Linked DNA regions of Homo sapiens: region 2 is linked to region 1. Evidence: promoter capture Hi-C in 16 types of primary human blood cells and fetal thymus (Javierre and others, 2016). All regions are on one chromosome and are shown on one strand. The core of a region is centred on a gene start or on the middle of the fragment in contact, and the rest is flanking DNA. Distances in the headings are between cores, read along the strand shown.

What was found. Contacts are between HindIII fragments. The CHiCAGO score rates a contact against its expected background, and 5 or more counts as called.
Region 2: the fragment with the promoter of MLYCD here is called in contact with a fragment that was not itself captured in region 1 in 1 of 17 cell types (neutrophils); the score reaches 5.9 in neutrophils.

Annotation. Positions count from the first base shown.
Region 1 is chr16:84,059,955-84,064,085 of GRCh38, reverse strand. It overlaps MBTPS1 (membrane bound transcription factor peptidase, site 1), which reads left to right. Exons shown (of 23, transcript NM_003791.4): 19 at 641-781; 20 at 3,273-3,404. Among named protein-coding and RNA genes, the nearest start is that of SLC38A8, 19 kb to the right of the region's middle. The HindIII fragment of the contact is 6,401 bases long and covers 1-4,131 here.
Region 2 is chr16:83,896,659-83,900,789 of GRCh38, reverse strand. It overlaps MLYCD (malonyl-CoA decarboxylase), which reads right to left and starts at 1,675. Exons shown (of 5, transcript NM_012213.3): 1 at 1,118-1,675. The coding sequence starts at 1,645. RefSeq lists silencers at 1,006-1,175, 1,476-1,905. The HindIII fragment of the contact is 8,175 bases long and covers 1-3,039 here.

The DNA of each region.
Region 1 (4,131 bases), core at 452-2,951:
TTATACATTTTTGACTTCTTGATTCATTACAAATTTTAAATTATGTCATCTGGGCAAAGATAGGAGGCTGTGCTATTGGAACATGTGTCTTTGTGAAATTAATGTAACCGATGTCTTAAACCTAAATATAAATATGTGGACATACTTTTAAAAATTAGTTACATTTGTCCTAGCTTTTCATAATAAAACGTGAAACCTGGGTATTAGTATATATGACTGTATTCATAGAGAAACCTGTGTGTTTAGCAAGATCTGCTGGCTGCCCTTTGTGTAGGTGTCTGAAAACATAGGCCTTTCAGGATAATAAGAGGGGACACAATTTAGGTTTTTTTTTTAAGATAGAGGCAGCACCTTTGCAATTGTAAATATTATGTACTGCCATGGCAAGTAAAAATGAAAGTGGATAGATACGGAAATACACACAAAGTGAATTTTGCTAAAACAAATCAATGGCACTTAAGACATTTCTATTCTAAAAGGCTTATTCTTAAGGCTTTTCTATTCTAAAAATTTGCAATGTTTTAATTGAATATTAGATTTTGTAAATGTGGTTTATTTGTCACGTGGATGAAATATCAGGAAATAACTCACTGCTCAGTGGAAACTCTCATGGCTGTTGTTTTTTGTTGTGTTGTTTCAGGATTGGAGGTTTTAAAGCAGGAAACAGCAGTTGTTGAAAACGTCCCCATTTTGGGACTTTATCAGATTCCAGCTGAGGGTGGAGGCCGGATTGTACTGTATGGGGACTCCAATTGCTTGGATGACAGTCACCGACAGAAGGGTAGGAAAAACGCAGATGGACTTTGTGACTTCGGCACTCAGATCCTTTCTTCCCTTTGTCTCTGGAAAGGCGCCCGTGAGATGCTGGCAGATCAGCCGACATCTGTTCACTTGAGCCAGGCTCAGCTGGAGATGTTGCAGTCACTTTGATTGCTTGGAATATTTTGATAGGTGTCTGAGTGTGCACACATTTAATAAGCAAAACAAAGCTACTTGTTGGGGCCATGATGCCTCTTCTCCATCTTCACCTTCCTGAGGCCAGCGGAGGCGGGACTCCCGCGTTGTGGTGGAGAGTCCCTTCCCTGACTTCCTTGGGGCCTGCCCCTCCCAGGCTTCCTACGCCGTGCTGCCTGGACTTTGTGGGCACTGCCACGAGGGGGCGCCCTTCTCTGGTCTGACTCACTCTTTTACTGGAGGGCTGGCTCTTGGCTGTCCTTCCAGACCTGGAATTCGGGCTTTTCTTAGCCTTTATCAGTGAAGAGCGTTTGTTATCTCGAGGCGTGAAGGGGAGGCAAATAGGCATGCCAGTCCTCTTCCCTCCGCGTCTTTATGTCAGTCTCTCGATGCATCCGTTGGATTTGGGGGCTTGAGGTTGGGCACAGACTATTTTTCTCATTTTGTAAAGGGGAGAAAGAATGGTAAAAGTGCTCCATGTTTTTACCTGGTGAGATGATAATGACACCAGGACTGAAAGGCAACCTTCTAATGCGCTGTGACCACTGGGGAACTCGAGGCACAGGGCGGGTGGTGAGTGACAAGAATGAGGCACTAACAGCGTGCGCTGAGAGGTGTGTGTGTGCCCCTCCGTTTCAGGCTGAAGTTGACTACATTCCTGGCATTTATGTAAATCCCTAGACTGGGATGGGTCTTTTTAAAAATCAAAAATGGGCCGGGCGCGGTGGCTCACGCCTGTGATCCCAGCACTTTGGTAGGCCGAGGTGAGTGGGTCACAAGGTCAGGAGTTCATGACCAGCCTGGCCAACACAGTGAAACCGCGTCTCTACTAAAAATACAAAAATTAGCCAGGCGTGGTGGCGTGTGCCTGTAGTCCCAGCTGCTTGGGAGGCTGAGGTGGGAGAGTTGCTTGAACCCGGGAGGCAGAGGTTGCAGTGAGCCGAGATCGTGCCACTGCACTCCAGCCTGGGTGACAGAGCAAGACACTGTTTTAAAAAATAATAATAAAATAAAATTAAAATTAAAAGTGAGGGTTAAAGTCACAGTTAAAGGAGGTTAATGTTTTATTTCCACAGAGATTTTAAGACCTGAGATCTCCTGGTAAGAGTCTTTATTAAATTGTAAATGCCTGAGAGGGTGGTCCTAGGCCTTACATTTAAAATGGCAGCTTTTTTCATCTTTCAGGGGCATTAAGCACTTGACCAGAAGTGCCCTTTAATGAGAGGAAAGTACTTAATGGCATTTTTCTCACACGGATCTTGTCTAGTCCAGGTTGATGTTAATGGAACTTGAAGGGGCAGACACAGGAGAAACAAGATGGAAACAGAAGCTCCAGGTTTCAATACCAGGTTGCGCCTTCCCTCTCAGAAAGGATCCTTTGTGAACGGGAGCTGTTGCTAGCCCAGTGCCTCGACTCTGAGGTGTCCCTGAAAACAAATTGCCCTTTCTCTGCTGTCACACTTCCAGTGGTCAGGGCCCTGCCGACTCGAAGCCCAGCTCAAGTGAACAGATGCTGCATGGGTGTTGAGCCTTGCCTCCACCCCCTGGGGTGTCAGTACAGTTCCTTCTCCCCAGGAGAGCCTCTGGGATGCAGCAGGAGCCATGGCCCTCCGTTCTCCTCTCCCTGTTGCCCCTGAGACCCCGCTCTCAGGCCCTTCTTTTCTCAGTGGGTGTCACATGGTCTCACTGTCTCTGAATGAGCTCCATTCTGCCCCCATCCATGAGGAGCTGAGTGTGGCACTCAGGCAGTTGGTGCAACCTGGTGGACAGTGGTGCTGACCACCTGGAACCCTGGGGCACTGGGAGTGGAGCCCTGGTCAGGTCATGGCTGTGTGTGCTTATCTGGCTGGGCTGGGCCACTGAGAATGCATGTCTTATGAGAATAGGGGAATCTGGAACATGTTGGATTTACTTTGACCTAAACTCGTGACTTCTGAACTCCCATTTCCCCCACTTTTGGGGACTAACTTAAAAAAAATTCCTTTAGAGATTTCTTCTTAAAAGCTAAATTCCGGGCCACGTGTGGTGGCTCACACCTATAATCCCAGCACTTTGGGAGGCTGAGGCAAGAAGATCACTTGAGCCCAGGAGTTTGAGACCAGCCAGACCCATTTCTGCAAAAAATAAAAAATTAGCCGGGCATGCTGTCATGTGCCTTCAGTCTCAGCTACTTGGGAGGCTGAGGCAGGAGGATCACTTGAGCCCAGGAGCTCAAGGCTGCAGTGAGCTATGATTGCGCCACTGCACTGGGTGACAAGAGCGTGACTCTGTCTGGAAAAAAAAAAAGGAATTCCTAAACAGGCTTGTTGACTTCGCAGACTGCTTTTGGCTTCTGGATGCCCTCCTCCAGTACACATCGTATGGGGTGACACCGCCTAGCCTCAGTCACTCTGGGAACCGCCAGCGCCCTCCCAGTGGAGCAGGCTCAGTCACTCCAGAGAGGATGGAAGGTGAGTGGATGGGCAGGATGCCTTGGGGAGGGAATTGGATCCAGCTGAACATGATGCTACTTCAGCCAGTGGCTGTGCCTGCCAGCAAGTGGGGCCAGTTTGTGTGCGCCGCTGAGTGGTTTTCGTAATGGCTGCGGGTAGAGCAGCACTCAGCGGCTCTAACCTGCCGAGAGGCCATCCTTAGTCCCCAGAGGGCCATGATCGAGGACCCAGTGTGCAGCTGCTTTCCCACGTGCACCCCGACCCTCACGCCACTCTGAGTGTGTTTACCGTCCCGCTCTCACAGGTGAGGACAGTGGCTCCTACAGATCTTCAGGAAGAATCACCAACATTCTAGAGCACTTGCCAGGTCCCATGCAGCAGGCTGGGATGCTCCCATGGATTACCTCACTGTCCCCTCTCAGTAATCCTGTGAAAATAGATGTTATTATTCCCAGTTTCCAGATGAGGAAATGAGAGCTGAGAGAAATTAGATAACTGCCTGAGATCGCCTGGGCGGTATGTGGTGGTGGAGCCTCAACCCGCCTCTGGGGCCTGTGCTGGTGCCGTGGGGCCGCCAGCTGCTTGGCACTTAGTGGGGTGGGTATCAGTGCGTCTAAGTCCCTGGTGTGCTGGTCCTTACAGCGCTGCCCGTAGAAGGCTCATGGGAACCACAGGCATCATTTAAAATTTTCCAGGAGCTGCGTTTAAAAAGTAAAAAGAAACACAGATGAAACTATTTTAATAA
Region 2 (4,131 bases), core at 426-2,925, 160 kb after region 1:
AAACCAGTATTAGAGTTCTTAAATGGGTCAAGTCATAATCATTCAAGTGTTCAATTTTTTTTTAACACCAACTGCACATAACAAACTTCTGAATGTCCAAAACTTCCTGAAACATTTACGTCATTTTTCGTTCATTAAAAGGGCAGGTTAAGCCTGGGCCACATGGTGAAACGCCCTCTCTACAAAAAAAAAAAAAAAAAAAAAAAATTAGCCGGGCATGGTGGCCTGCACCTGTAGTCCCAGCTACTCAGGAGGCTGAGGTGGGAAGATTGCTTGAGCCTGGGGAAGTCGAGGCTGCAGTGAGCCGTGATAACACCACTGTACTCCAGTCTGGGCAACAAAAATAAAAATAAAAAAAGGGCAGGTTAGTTTTTCGCCGTATTTAATACTAACAGTATAAAAGAAGAGTATATGTTGCTCTAGGCCTTCTTTCGGGTCATAATCATTTAAATCTCAAAGTATGTGTCTGCATTTAACATGAATGAACTGTGCTAATGCCTGATTACCTCAAGTCAACTCAGAATCATCACATTAAGTACTGAACGCAGGGAGTTAAATGCCCTCCCAAAAGTCATGGAGCACAGACAAGGCCAGAAGCCATGGAGACTCCTGGGTGGTGGTGGTGACCTTGAGTCCTATTTACCTTTGTGCATTTCACAGGACTTCTCAGGACAATGTCTCACACATAGCGGGTGCCCAGTGAACTTCTGAAACACCATCCAGGGTCTCAGAAGGCTGCCTGATGCTCTAGTTCAGGTATACCATATAGATGAAACACTTCTCAGCTACAATAATTTCAAAAGACTGTAGAGCACACACTAATCAGGTACGAGAGGTGACAGCTACCTTAAAGACCACCAAGTGCTGAGTATTTAGTAAACACTATACAAGTGAGGACTTCAAGGACAGACTGGAGGAAGGCGGGGGTGTGCTCTGACGAGGCCAGGACTCAGACAGCGTGGGAAGGGGACACAGTTGGCAGGCGGTAACTGCGGGCGAAGTGAGCGTGCTATCGGGCAGGGAAGGCGGGGTGTGTGGGACTTGGAGGGGGCAAGTGAGGACTACTCGAGGAGGGCGGCCAGTCCGCGCTGCCGGGGGATCGACGGCGGCCCCTTACCCGGACGTCCGGCCCCTCCACCAGCTTGAGGGCCTGCGCCTCCAGCAGGTCGGCCCGCAGCTGCACCAGGAAGCGCACGCCGCCGTCCAGCTTGCTGATGTGGTGGAAGAGGCCGCGATAGCGCGGCACCAGCGCGTAGCGCAGCCGGTCCTCGGCCTGCAGCAGCACCGCCGCCTCCCGCTGCTGCTGGCGCAGATGGAGCACGCCGGCGCTCTGCTCCGCCACCTGGCCGTGGTCCACGCCGAAGCCCCGCGCCAGGCGGCCCAGCAGTTCGGCCCGCTGGGCCGTCTCGGCCAGCCCACCGTAGAAGCTCACGAAGTCCGCGCACTGACCCTCGGCGGGCGCCGGTGTCTTCTCGCGCAGCTCGTAGGCCGGCGTCGGCGGCACCGCGCGGCGCAGCAGCTCGTCCATGGCCCGCTCCAGGGCGCCGGCCGCCTGCCCGCTCGCCAGCCGGGGCCCGGGCGGCCGCGGGGGCAACCGCAGCGGGAGGAGACGCCTGGCCGTCAAGCCTGGCCCGAAGCCTCGCATGGTGCCCCACAACAGCTGCCGAGGGGGAGCGCCGCCGCCGCTGCCGCGCTTCCGGCTTCCGGCGCGCGCCGGCCCCATTGGCCGAGGCCGCGAGCCCGGCTGGGGACGCGGCCAATAGGAGGGCGGGGCGGTGGGGGCGAGGCGGCGGGGGCGGAGCGGCTCTGGCGGCGGCCGGAGGCCAAGTGTGGCTAAAGGTTACTGCCCCGCGGCTGGGCTGCCTCGGGGCCTGCTCCCGCGCGGCTGGCGGCTTGTACTCCGGTCCTAACACCTGACCGCCTAAAGGCACCGGCCCAGCCCCTCCTCTCTTTCCCGACTGCACTGCACAAGTGCCGCCTCCTCTCTAGATCCGAGCGCCTCCAGCCTCCCGGTGCATCAGAGTCACCTGGGAACTCCTGCACCGGAGGATTCCTGGGCTCCGAAATCAGAATCCTAGAGATTCAGATTCAGTGTGTCTGGGAGGAGCCAAGGAATATGCTTGCTTAAGAGGTGTTTGTGGCAATCCTCTGGCATGGTAGGTAGCCTTTGTTTGACCCCTGCCTAGGCACTCACCATTCGCGTCAGTGTCTTACACACATGACGCTCAGAGCCACAGAGGTTGGAGGGGTGTGTGAGTGTGTGTGGAGAGAGAGAGAATATGTCTATATGTATGGATGTATGTACACATACGCACGCATATACACATACATATGTATGTAAAAGAGACATGGAGACAGAGAGACTGATGGAAAGCCATACCCTTGAGCAAATGCCAGAATGAGACAAAGAGTTTTCTTTGAAATAGTTTTCAGATAATTGCAGTTATCAAGGCATATTTATTTTGTCCTCTAGAAAGATAGGCCTGAACTCTAGTTCCCCCTCCTTCCCCAATCCATTACAATCTGTAGAAGAGAATGTCACATACCAGCCATGTCTCCCACATGCAAAATTGCAGGAGGCATTAGGAACACAGTGGGATTTTGTTCCACTCTGATGGAAATATGGCATCTTTGGTTGGAGGGTGAGGGAGCCATGTACTTGGTTGACTATGTCTAGGTGCTAGGATTTCTATAGGTAGAACCCTTTGGTGCAGGTCTTGCAGTATAAAAGACACCTGGAGGTAGTTCTGTATGAGGACAGCCTTTGCTGGGTGTGTCTCATCTTATGGGGCACGAAGAAAGTACGTTTGGCTCATTCTGCCAAGACACAGACACACAAAACATTCTGAAAGCCTAGTGGTGGCTTTTGAGGACACCTCTCCATTCCTCTTTTCTAAGAAGTGGTGAAACCATATTGCCAGCTGGCTAAGGGAGTTGGTGGGGTCCAAACTCTGGTGTTTGTCTCTTTGCCTTGTCGAGTGAGCTTTTGTCTGTCCTAGGATACTCCTGCCTTGCTTTAGGAATCTTGTCTTGAAAGCTTGACTTTGCTTAAGCATTTGCTAAGTGTAGTACTCCCACAACCCTGTTCTTTCTCATCTTTCCCGGTGCCTTCCTTTTTATGTAATTTCTGGCTTCTGTTTTTTTTTTCTCTGTGTTTATACTTTTTTCTCTAGGCGTCAACAGCCATCCTCTGCTTTTTCCCACTCATGTCCTTATTTCAAAAGACTGCCCCAATCCAAAAATGAAATTAAAGAAACAATTCTATTTACAACAACATCTGAAGGGATAAAAGAAACATGTTTAACCAAGGAAGTGTGAGACTGGTAGATGGAAAACCACAGAACAGTATTGAAGGAAATTAAAGAAGACCTAAACAAATGGAATGGTCCATGCATGGTTCATGGATTGGAAGATGTAATATTGTTAATATAGCTCATATGGTTTGGATCTGTGTCCAACCAAATCTCATGTCTAGTTGTAATCCTCAGTGTTGGAGGTGGCGCCTGGTAAGAAATGATTGGATCATAGGGGCAGAGTTCTCATAAATGGGTTAGCACCATCCCCGCTTGGTACCCTACAGTGAGTTCTCAGGAGATCCGGTTGTTTAGAAGTGTGCATCACCACCCCCTCTCTCCTGCTCTGGCTATGTGAAGCTCCTCACTCCCCCTTTGCCTTCCGCCATGAATGGAAGCCTCCTGAGGCCTCTCCAGAAGCAGAAGCCACTACGTCTTCTGTACAGCTTGTGGAACCATAATCCGATTAAACCTCTTTTCTTTATGAATTACCCAGTCTCGTGTATTTCTTTATAGCAGCGTGAGAATAGACTAATACAATGGCAATACTCCCAAAATTAACCTACAGATCTAATACAATCCCTATTAAAATTTCACTGCCCTTTTTTTTTTTGCAGAAATAGAAAAACATATTCTAATATTTATATAGAAATGCTAGGGGCCCTGAGTGGCCAAAACAATCTTTAAAAAGAACAAACTTACTACAAAGCCACAGTAATCAAAATAATGTGGTATTGGCAGAAAGATAAAACACAAAAATCAATAGAATAAAATTGAACATTCAGAAATAAACCCATCTATGGTCAATTGATTTTTTTTTTTTTTTTTGAGACAGAGT